Linked DNA regions of Homo sapiens: regions 2 and 3 are each linked to region 1. The links are contacts of gene promoters, found by promoter capture Hi-C in human tissues and cell types (Jung and others, 2019). All regions are on one chromosome and are shown on one strand. The core of a region is centred on a gene start or on the middle of the fragment in contact, and the rest is flanking DNA. Distances in the headings are between cores, read along the strand shown.

Region 1 (3,720 bases), core at 599-3,098:
TTCGCCGTGTTGGCCAGGCTGGTCTCCAGCTCCTGGCCTCAAGTGATCGGCCCGCCTTCACCTCCCAAAGTGCTGGGATTACAGGTGTGAGCCACCTCGCCCGGCCCGAAAGTGCCATTTCATCGGGTTGTTTTGAGGATTAAATATGTTAATCCTTATGTGAGGTACTTAGAATAGCCCCTAACATATATTAATCTCTCAATAAAAGTTAGCTATTGGCCGGGAGAGGTGGCTCACACCTGTAATCCCAGCACTTTGGGAGGCCGAGGCCGGCAGATCGCAAGGTCAGAAGTTCAAGATCAGCCTGAGCAACATGGTAAAACCCTGTCTCTACTAAAAACACAAAATTAGCCAGGCACTTGCCTGTTATCCCAGCTACTCGGGAGGCTGAGGCAGGATAATCGCTTGAACCCAGGAGGCGGAGGTTGCAGTGAGCCAAGATCACGTCACGGCACTCCAGCCTGGGTGACAGAGTTTGGTGAGCTTGGATAAGTCATTTCTCCTCTCTGAGCCTCAGTCTCTTCAGCCGTAAGTGTGAAAAATAATAAAACCTCCCCCAAAGATTGTCATGGGGATTATGACAAAGCAGCTAATGGCATTTTGAAAAGTGCTGTAGCAACAAAATATGGAACTATCACCAACAAAATCCCCCCTTTAGGTAATAAAAACCTTTTACCGGGAGATGGGCCTTGGGTTTTCAGACCCACTACTGACTTGACAGGCAGAGGATGCAGTTCCAAATGTGGATTTGGAGCTGGGCTTTGGGCATCTCTCTCCCCCCTCAGCTCCTGTTTCCTTACTCATTAAGTGGGGGGTCATTCCTGCTGGACGCCTGTCTAGGGTCCTTGTTTGGGGGCGGTCAAAGGAGATCAGAGAGCACAGACGGGAATGTGCTTTGCAAACATGAAAGAGGGCTAGAAAGGAGGAGGAGGGACTTGGGGAAGGTGGCCAGCCAAGGGGGGAAAGGAACCTTTGGCCTGAGCACTGGTCTTAGTCTGGGCTGGAGAGTTTAGTTTGCCTGCTGGGGAGAGGGGAGGTGTCTCCTATGAGGTAGGGTTTCACCTTGAGACATAAGGTGTCAGAGAAGAAACTCTGATGGAAGAAGCTCTAAGAGGCTCCAAGTGTGGGCAGAGAAGGAAGCGGGCCAAAGGACCTGGGCTTGGCCCTGGAATCAGCCCCTCATCACTGTCTTCCCAGGCAATCCCATCTGCCATGAAAGGACCTTGGCAGAGGCAGCTCCAGTGGGCTCCAGGGTCACCTTCATGACAAGACTTGCCGCCACAGGCTCACCTGCACATCTATAGCACCAATGCCCCCACCCTTAGGCTGCAGATTCCTGGTCTCGCCCCCAGGGAAAGCAGGCTTGACACCACCCAGCACCCAGACCAAGACAGGTCTCAGCCTGCTACAGAGGGAAAAAAGCAAGTTGACTAGAACCCTGTTCTGCCTTCCCATTCAGACTGTCAGAGCATCTGCCACAGCCCAGGGAGGGGGCTGATCCCACATACGGAGCCCCCACCCCAGGCCTTTGGAGGAAGCCTGGGGATCAGGAGGCCTTGTTTGGAGTCCTGGCTCTGCCCAAGCTCACAGTGCTTCCACAGCCAATCACCTAACCGGGCTGGGACTGTTTGACCATCTGTAAAATAAAAGGAGCTGGACTTGGTTCACAGGTCTCCACAGCGCAGGACTGTGATCAGGAAAGAGTTAATGGAGGCCAGGATCTGCCTCAGGAAGGCGAGGGTTAATTTGGGGGGCGGGGGGTGGAGGCTTTCTCTGCTTTTCCTGTGGAGAGTGAGGTTTGGCTGCCACCAAAGTTACTTCTAGTCCTTGCTGTCCACTCCTGCCCTCAGTCTGGACCTGCCCAAGGACCCCTGCAATTAGGCCTCCCATGCAGAGGTGAGTGTACCCTGAGCCCAGGGCTGGGGTAAGAAGGAACCCAGGGGCCTGAGGGCAGGGAGACTGGTGCCAAACTAGTGAGCCTAAAAGATGGCCCATGCCCAGAGCAGAAGCCTTGGGCAGAGTTGAGACCACAAGTTTCAGGACTGGGAGAAGGCAGGCAAAGGAATGGAGGGCCCGAGGCTGCCTGCCAGGCTTCTAGGGCGGGATGTCTGAGGTCCGGCCTCCAGGCTAGCCCAGAAGGCAGGGAAGAGGCTGTGGATGACAGACTATTTTGGTCCTTGTGATTAGGAACTTTTTATAGTCTCCCTGCTCAGGGCTGGGGAGAAGAGGAGAGGACAGAGGGCACCCATGGGGTCAGACAAGCAGTGCCTTCCTGGGACCTTGGAATCTGACCCACTGCCAAGGAGACTCCCTGGGAGACAGGGAGGGGGACACTGCCAGACTCTCCTTGGTTCCCAGGCCTCAACTACCTATGAGCAGACTGACTACACACTAGATGCTGGGTGCAGGGGTGGGCTGGACCTGGCAGGGTCTCTGCCCCAAGGCCTCTCACAGACTCCTTCCCCACTTCCCTGGCTAATTCTGTTCCTTTGTTGTCCCCAGATCCAAGGTCCCTCAGCCTCCAGGACTCAGGGGGAGTAGGGGAAGATAGGGGTGGGGTCGGGTGTGCAGGGCCATGTGGGTGGCCCATTCTGTTACTGCCAAGAGAACTGTCAGCTCTTGATTTACAACCCCTCCTCGCTCCTTGCCCCAGCAGAAGGGAGGTGGAAAAGGGTCATGAGGTCTTAGGATAAAAAAGGGACAAGGACCCTGGGGGCAAATTTCTGGGAGTGGGAGCGCAGGTTATTAGGAAGAATTAGTGGAAGGAACTTTTTAGTGAGGCAAGGGGCCCATTTCTAACGGAAATTGCTTGGTTTTATAGCAGCGGGAATACACGCAAAATATCAGTGAGTTCTTTTTTTTTTTCTTTTTTTTTTTTTGAGACGGAGTCTCGCTCTGTTGCCCAGGCTGGAGTGCAGTGGTGCGCGATCTCGGCTCACTGCAACCTCCGCCTCCCAGCTTCAAGCGATTCTCCTGCCTCAGCTTCCCAAGTAGCTGGGATTACAGGTGTGCGCCACCCCGCCTGGCTAATTTTTGTATTTTCAGTAGAGATGGGGTTTTGCCATGTTGGCCAGGCTGGTCTGGAACTCCTCACCTAAGGTAATTCACCCACCTCGGCCTCCCAAAGTGCTGGGATTACAGGCATGAGCCATCGCGCCTGGCCTCAGTGGGAAGTTCTGATAGGCAAGTGAGAGATCCAATCTGAACTGCAAGGCAAGAAACCTGGGTGACAAAGCAAGACTCCGTCTAAAGAAAAAAAAAAAAGAAACCTGGGTTCCAGTCCTGGCTCCTAACTCTCAATAGGACCTGAGCAAGCCCCCCTCCTCTCCAAGCCAGTTTCCTCTTCATGAAATGGAAATGCAAAGGTTAAACAAGGTGATGTTTACAGTTTGGCATTCTGCGATCCCCTTGGCAGGGGCAGAGTAGCTGGCAGTAGCTGATAGGGCCTGGGGACCACCTCCCTCTCCTGCCCCGATGGCCCTGCTGGGCCTGGGCAGGGCAGTTGGCTGCAATTACTGGAGGCTCCTACCCTGTGGTTATATCCCCGACCTCGGTGTTTGGGGGCGGGAAGGGTGGGCCCTGCTGGAGCCAGCCTGTGGCTGGGAGCCTTCTTGTCTTGGGCTCAAAGCTGCTGGGTTGGGAAGAGGTATTTTTTCCGGTTGAAGCCACTTTCAGGAATTGGGCCGGGACCAGCCCTGTTTCCTTTTCCAAGTGTCCTGC
Region 2 (3,730 bases), core at 727-3,226, 95 kb after region 1:
TGGCGGGCTCCTGTAATCCCAGCTACTCGAGAGGCTGAGGCAGAAGAGTCGCTTGAACCCAGGAGGCAGAGGTTGCGGTGAGCCAAGATCGTGCCACTGCACTCCAGCCTGGACAACAGAGTGAGTGAGACCCCATCTCAAAAAAGAAAAAATTGGGCCGGGGGCAGTGGCTCACACCTGTAATCCCAGCACTTTGGGAGGCCGAGGCGGGCGGATCACCTGAGGTTGGGAGTTCAAGACCAGCCTGACCAGCATGGAGAAGCCCTGTCTCTACTAAAAATACAAAATTAGCCGGGCGTGGTGGAGCATGCCTTTAATCCCAGCTACTTGGGAGGCTGAGGCAGGAGAATCGCTTGAACCCAGGAGGAGGAGGTTGTGGTGAGCCAAGATCGCGCCATTGCACTCCAGCCTGGGCAACAAGAGTGAAATTCCGGCTCCAAAAAATAAAACAAAAAATTGTATTGCTTACTAGTCTTTGAAGTCTTTATCACTAGCAGTCTGCCTTAACCTTGTGTACTAGTCCTATATTTAAGTTGTGAGACATCAGAAACTGGGTCCTTTAACTGAGAAATTTCTTTCTTGGTCCTGAGAGACTAATGCATGTTATCAGAACTTATTCAGGTTTTTGTTTTGTTACGTGTGTGTGTGTTTTTTTAGTGTGGCCTTTTATATATCCCCAAGATCATCTTCAGTATAGCAAATTAGATACTATGCATGTAATATAAGGCTTGCACGTCTTTTTTTAAAGTATTTATTCCTCCTGTCTAACCGAAATGTTTTACCCTTTGATCAGCATCTCTCGATTCCCCCTGCTCCCAGCTTCTGGTAACCACAATTATTCTCTCTGTTTCTATGTGTCGAGGTTTTTTTTAGCTTCCACATATAAGTAAGAACGTGCAGTATTTGTCATTTTGTGCCTGGCTTATTTCTCTTAGTGTCCTCCAGTTTCATCCATGTTGTTGCAAGTGACACAATTGACATCTTTTATAAGGCTGGTATTCCGTTGTGTAATATACTGCATTTTCCTTATCTGTTCGTCTGTTGATTCTATAACTTGGCTATTGTGAATAATTACTCAGTAAACATGGGATTGTAGATATCTCTTGGACATACATATTTCATATCGTTTGGATATATACCCAGAAGTGGATTGCTGGATCATATGGTAACTATTTTTAGTTTTTTGAGGAGCTACATACTCCATTGTTTTCCACAGTGGCTGTGTTACATTCCCCCCAACTGTGTACTAGAGTTCCCTTTTCTCTGCATCCTCTCCAAACTTGTTATCTTTCATCTTTTTTTTTTTTTTTTTGAGATGGAGTCTCACTCTGTCGCCCAGGCTGGAGTGCAGTAGTGCGATCCTGGCTCATTGCAACCTCCACCTCCTGGGTTCAAGCGATCCTCCTGCCTCAGCCTCCCGAATAGCTGGGACTACAGGCGCGTGCCACCATACCTGGCTAATATTTTGTATTTTTAGTAGAGACAGGGTTTCACCGTGTTAGCCAGGATGGTTTCGATCTCCTGACCTCATGATCCCCCCTCCTCAGCCTCCCAAAGTGCTGGGGATTACAGGCATGAGCCACTGCGCCCGGCCTCATCTTTTTCATCATAGCCATTCTGACAGGTGTGAGGTGGCTTGCCCATATTTTTAAAGAGTTGCTTAAGGCCGGGCATGGTGGCTCACACCTGTAATCCTAGCACTTTGGGAGGCTGAGGCAGGTGGATCACTTGAGCCCATGAGTTCGAGACCAGTCTGGGCAACATGGCGAAACCCCATCTCTCCTAAAAATACAAAAACTGAGGTGGGAAGATCACCTGAGCCTGGGGAGGTCGAGGCTGCAGTGAACTGTGATCACGCCACTGTGCTCCAGCCTGGGTGACAGAGTGAGACCCCATTTCAAAAAAAAAAGTTGTTTAATGAGAAGGTCGTAGCTGATCTATACTTACATAATTCTGGGAACAATTATAGTATTTGTTGTTGTTATCTGAGTGTTCTCTGTGTTGGTTGCTGGGGAGAAAAAGAAACAAGTTGGTAGTCGCTCTTCTCCGTGGTAGATATGCTTGATTTGGGAACGAGTACTGAATATAGTTGAAAAGAGAAGAAATTGGTATTCCTTATTTCCTTATTCAGTTTTCTGCCTGCTGAAAGCAATAAGTATGTTACCTCACATTCCTCCCTTATTGTTTGCTTGCAGTAGTCCCCCTCAGAGTAGTACTTGAAAGTTGGAAATAGGTAGAAATGTGAACCTTGTATAGTAGGGCTAATCAAGGGTTGTCTCCCAAGACCAGGCAGGAGCCAAAGGAAACACAAATTCAGTCTGAAGGAAAAGTTAAAAAAAAAAAAACACAGTTGGGTACACACAAGGGGGCAAGTGAAAGGCAAAATATAAAATAGAGGATTTCAGTGTGTACCCAATTGAGAGTGCTCACTGTGCTAGAGTGAAACCTGAGAGTTACTAAGAATAACTTCACATATCCAGGCAGTCAGGTTTGGGGTATGGGAGAGAGAACAGAATCCTGCCTCAGATGCCATACTCCCTGTCCTGCATACTGAGCAAGACTGTCTAGTTCGCTTCATTCTTCAGATAGTTTGGACTCGTTGCTCACCTTCCTGGGGGAGCTTTTGGAGGTCGCAGAAGATTCTGGTGACTCTTGGAAAGGATATTTTTATTAGATTTGATTATAGCTGAGAGTTGTCCAGCTTCCAGAAGAGTAGGACCTAACTCATTTTCCTTAAGTAAGTAATTTGTTTTAAAGTTTAAATTTTTTAAAAAACTTTTTAAAAGTTTTTCAGCTTTGTCTGTTGACTGACAAGATTTTTTTTATTCCAGTACAAAGGACTAAGTTAAAAGTGAAGTCATTATTGCCTTTTGTTAGTTTACCTTGTGAATGGCATTTGAGATCCTGGAACATACATCTCCCAGTTTGGTTGCCGTTTCTTTCTGCCTGATACTTTTGATGATGGTGCTCTCTCTGCTTGGTCTCAGGACAGGCCGAGAGCTTCTGGCATAGCATTCAAACTCAAGAAAGCTTGCTACTTCAATTTTTACTTATGGAAGACTATTCTCTCCCCAGATTTTTGCAGCTCAAGTGGCAGTCCTCCTTTCCAGCCCATCAAAAGCCACGTAACCATTCCAACAGCCCATGTGATGCCTTCTACTTTAGGGACCTCTCCTGCCAAGCCAAATTCTACACCTGTTGGACCCTCTTCCTCTAAACTCCCTTTGTCAGGGTTGGCTGAAAGTGTGGGAATGACAAGAAATGGAGACCTCGGTGCAATGAAACATTCTCCAGGCCTATCTAGAGATCTCATGTATTTCTCTGGTGCTACTGGAGAAAATGGAATTGAGCAGTCCTGGTTTCCAGCAGTGGGCCATGAAAGACAAGAAGAGGCGAGGAAGTTTGATATTCCTAGCATGGAATCTACCCTCAATCAGTCGGCAATGATGGAGACACTTTATTCAGATCCTCACCACCGAGTCCGCTTCCACAACCCAAGAACCAGCACAAGTAAGGAGTTGTACAGAGTGTTGCCTGAGGCCAAGAAGGCACCGGGCAGCGGGGCAGTGTTTGAGCGGAATGGACCACATTCTAATAGCAGTGGGGTCCTCCCTTTGGGACTCCAGCCTGCTCCCGGGCTCTCCAAGCCTCTGCCCTCTCAGGTGTGGCAGCCGAGTCCTGACACTTGGCATCCCCGAGAGCAATCTTGTGAACTCAGCACTTGTCGGCA
Region 3 (3,689 bases), core at 1,178-3,677, 120 kb after region 1:
GGTTCCATCAGCCAGAGCTCTGCCAAAGGCCCCGCAGTCCCTCTCCCAGGAGGACCCTAGAGGCAATTAAATGATGTCCTGTTCCATTGGCACTGTGTCTGGTTGGTTGTGGCCTGGGCCTCCTGGGTCCCTGCCCTGGGCAAGGTTGGTAGTTGTGACTGTGCTGAGACTGCTCTGTGGGAAGGGTGGCTGAGCTGTTCTCTTGTGACTGTCACCTCTGTGTTTGTTAGTGCATGTGTTTGGATATGTCTGACACACAAATACCTGTATGGACCAGTGGTTTCTGGAGATGTCTGGGTGGGCCACCCTCCAGTTCACATGCATGTGTCCATATCATGCTTGTGCCTTGGTGTGTAGTGCACATCTCCATGCCTGTCAGTGAGTGTGGCCATCCCATGCGCCTGTGTTGGAGCACAATGGCTAAGAATGAGTGTATCATGGGAGGTGGGTACCCAGCTGCAGTTCTGCTAATTTGGGGGCATGGGTCTAGTGGCAAAATGGCTTTGTGCGGTGTTGAAGTGTCCCCACGAGTTGGTGGGTCTGTGCCTGTGCACAGGTATCTGCTGGCTGCACACATACACAGTGAGGCTCTGCTGTCCCAGCTGAGAATGTAAACCCAGCTGGGGCCAGCTCCTTCCCCCCACTGCATCCCTCCCTTCACAGGATCCACTTAGCCCTTCTTGGGAGAAAGAGGAACCTAGAAGACAAAGACCCAGCAGCCAGGCCCGCCAGCCGGGGCTCGAGTTACCAAGGGGCGGGTCGGCACCGCCCCCTCCCTGGCCCAGCTGGTCCCAGGCCTTTCCTACGTGCCTGGCGAGATGGCCCACCCAAGAGCCTGGCGGAGCAGCGGGTTGAGGGGGCGGGTGCTTTATTGGGGGCTGGGACTGGGTCCAGGACAGGGACTGGGGCCGGGACCGGGACCGGGACTGGGGCCGGGACCGGGACCGGGACTGGGGCCGGGACCGGGACCGGGACAGGGACCAGGACTGAATTTCAGGCTGGACTTCGGGGCTCGGCGTGCCCGCAGCAGCAGTGCTGCTTTGGGCACAAGGCCTGCAGCCTGCAGCGTGAGTGTATCGTCCTGGTAGAGGGTGGGCGGGAATGTGCTGAAGATCTCAAAGGCAGAGGCATCCATGACCCTGGGGACCAGGCAGAGCAGATCAGGCTGGGCAGTGGGACCAGAGCCCCTCTGTGGCCCTGGCCCTGCCCTGCACCCACCTGGCCTGCGCTAGCAGAGCTCGCACGTCCCCAATGGTGTTGTCAGGCTGCATCATCAGTAGGAAGGCCTGTTCCCCATTCTCAGACTTGATGCGCAGCATGGAGAGCGGGGGTGCCGGCGTGTTGGGTGACTCCTGGCTCCTGCACAGCCCAGAGGCCATCAGCACGCGGTGACCCAACGCCCCCAGGCCCTCACCTCCTCATCCCGCCCTCACCTCTCTCGCTCAGCGGCCAAGGTGGGCGTCTCCACCACAATCTCCTGGATCCGGGCAGGCAATGGGCAGCAGTTCTGGAAGGTATCAGTGGAGGGTGGACAGAGCCCTAGGCCCCATTTGAGTCATCCCCACAAACCTTAGAGGGACACTTCCTTGACCAGGGACAGATGAGACCAGTGAGCAAAGCGGGAGGGGGTGTTCTGTATAAACCAAGGCCAGAGGAGAGGCAATGGAAGGGGAAGAAGGTTCTGGGAGGCAGCCCCATGGTTCCCCCCAGGTAACCCCCCGTTTCAGTCTAATGGAGACAGAACCCCACACAGACGATGATCAGGCTGGAAGCCCACCCCAGCCTGGGGTCAGGGAAGGCTTCCCTCGGAAAATGACAACTGAGCTGTGACTGAAGGATGAATGGGAGTCCTTAGAAATGGAATGGATGCAGGGATATTCCAGACAGCATCAACAAAGATCCTGGGTTCAGGGAAAGCTTCCTAGAGGTGGCGACACATTTGGGCAACTGCCAGCATTATGTGTGGCTGAAGCTGGGGCTCAATTGGACTGGAAGGAAAAGGTTGGTGTGAGGAGGGGCCTGGCAATATAGGACGGGCCTTGAGTGCCAGCATAAGGAACCTGGCTTTATCTCAAGAACCACTGGAACATTTCAACAGGGAAGGCAGCCTGGAGGATGGTCAGCAGGGGCAGGAGTGGCAGTGGGAGGCAGCTGTCTGGGAGAGACACTCTGAACCCTAGACTAGGGTGGTGGGTGGTGGGAATGTGGAGAAGGGATGCATCTGGGAGAAGTTCTGGGGGTGGACAGACCAGACAGGACTTAGCAATGTGTGGGTGAGGGAGGCAGAGGAGGCCTGAGAAACTAAGGTTTGGTGCCTTTCACAGGTGGACACCTAGGAGGAGAAGCAGAATAGGGAGCGAGGAGACAGAATGATGAGGGCCAAGGAGAGTCTGAGGCAACCACGAAGGGAGTACCCAGTACTGAGTTGGATATTTTGGCCTAGACCTTGATGGGGTGGCCTGGGCCTTGGGCTCACCCCTGGCCTGGACTCTGACTTTAGCCCTCTTACAGCTAACCCACCTGCTTTCCGGGGCCCAGCCCGTGCCCTCACCAGCCTCACAGTTTCCAGGAGACAGTGGAGCAACAGCTCTGAGGGACTCATCAGGTGCCTCAAGCTTGAGCCTTCTGACAAGACACTGTTCTGGCAGGCTGGACCAGGGCTGGTGCTAAAGTTCCCCCAGGAGGGCTGGGGGAGTTAGCATTGGCCTCACCTGCAAGGTGTCCCTGATGGGGCCCCGGATGTCAATCACCTCGCCTTGCCGGATCACAAACTTGGGGAGCCTGTTCAGAAATTTCTCAGCAGTCATCCTGGAGCCTACAGGCAGAGTTGGGAACCGGGGCCCAGGAAGGACTATGAGTGGTGGTGGAGCCCCCCTGGAGTTTGTTCTGCAGTCCCCCAGCCCCCTGGCTCAGCCTGGAGGCCAAACTCACCTGGGTGCTCCTCCACCCTGTCCAAGGCCTTGTGCATCAGCTGCCTGCCCACCACACGGCCCTCGCCTGGGAAGGGGTCCAGTCCATCCTCCAGGTAGACCTGATTGCGCAAGTCACTCACCTGGCAAGAAAGAAGGGCAACGACGGCAGCGGACCCAGCTCTTCAGCCCTTGGCCCCACTTTCATCCCTATTTGCCTAAACACAGGCCAAGGGTATGGTCTAATGCAACCCCCATTTTACATATGAGGAAACCCAGGCCTCAGGAGAGCCACGGTTCGTACTGCTGTCATCTCCCTCAGCCCTGCTGCTCCTGTAAGCACCCCATCCACGCCAGCTGAAGCTGCAGTACTGACACCCTCCTTGGAGACCCCCCTCTCAGGAGCCTACCGTGAAGGCAGAGTGTGAGGGGGTCAGGAGAGGACAAAGCCCCTGCTTTTTTCCAGTCTGCAGCACAAACCGCATCATCGTACATGTAACCTCACTTGCCTTATCAAGGCATAGCTCCGAGGTCCCCGCTGTGGCACGAATGCCTTAAACACCCCCGCGTCATGACTCATGCTGTTTCCTGAGCCCTGGTGACACATGCTCCCTCCCGGACACGCCCTCAGTGCGGCACTAACCCACCACCTTCTAGAACACGAAGCCTCATGGGCTCTGGTGGTGGCACCTACCCATGGGGCCAGCTCTACCTCATGTCTTTGAGTCCCAACATCTGTCCCCTCTGCTTTGCATTTGTGGCTCACAGCACTGCCTCCCA

Evidence for each region. The method cuts DNA at HindIII sites, captures the fragments that hold promoters and counts their contacts. A contact is called where the count stands out against the background at its distance.
Region 2: a fragment that was not itself captured here is called in contact with the fragment with the promoter of FAM110D in region 1 in 5 of the 25 tissues and cell types used here (IMR-90 fibroblasts, dorsolateral prefrontal cortex, lymphoblastoid cells and 2 more).
Region 3: a fragment that was not itself captured here is called in contact with the fragment with the promoter of FAM110D in region 1 in 2 of the 25 tissues and cell types used here (adrenal gland and thymus).

Annotation. Positions count from the first base shown.
Region 1 is chr1:26,157,231-26,160,950 of GRCh38, forward strand. FAM110D (family with sequence similarity 110 member D) reads left to right here and starts at 1,849. Exons shown (of 2, transcript NM_024869.3): 1 at 1,849-1,896. RefSeq lists an enhancer at 1-123. The HindIII fragment of the contact is 16,538 bases long and covers 1-3,720 here.
Region 2 is chr1:26,252,096-26,255,825 of GRCh38, forward strand. It overlaps CEP85 (centrosomal protein 85), which reads left to right. Exons shown (of 14, transcript NM_001319944.2): 4 at 3,076-3,730. Among named protein-coding and RNA genes, the nearest start is that of CEP85, 20 kb to the left of the region's middle. The HindIII fragment of the contact is 5,989 bases long and covers 1-3,730 here.
Region 3 is chr1:26,281,431-26,285,119 of GRCh38, forward strand. UBXN11 (UBX domain protein 11) reads right to left here. Exons shown (of 15, transcript NM_001389556.1): 11 at 2,932-3,052; 12 at 2,712-2,815; 13 at 1,434-1,507; 14 at 1,219-1,359; 15 at 852-1,139. The coding sequence ends at 869. It overlaps SH3BGRL3 (SH3 domain binding glutamate rich protein like 3), which reads left to right. Exons shown (of 3, transcript NM_031286.4): 3 at 1-92. Among named protein-coding and RNA genes, the nearest start is that of SH3BGRL3, 3.2 kb to the left of the region's middle. RefSeq lists enhancers at 2,447-3,037, 3,163-3,252. The HindIII fragment of the contact is 4,676 bases long and covers 90-3,689 here.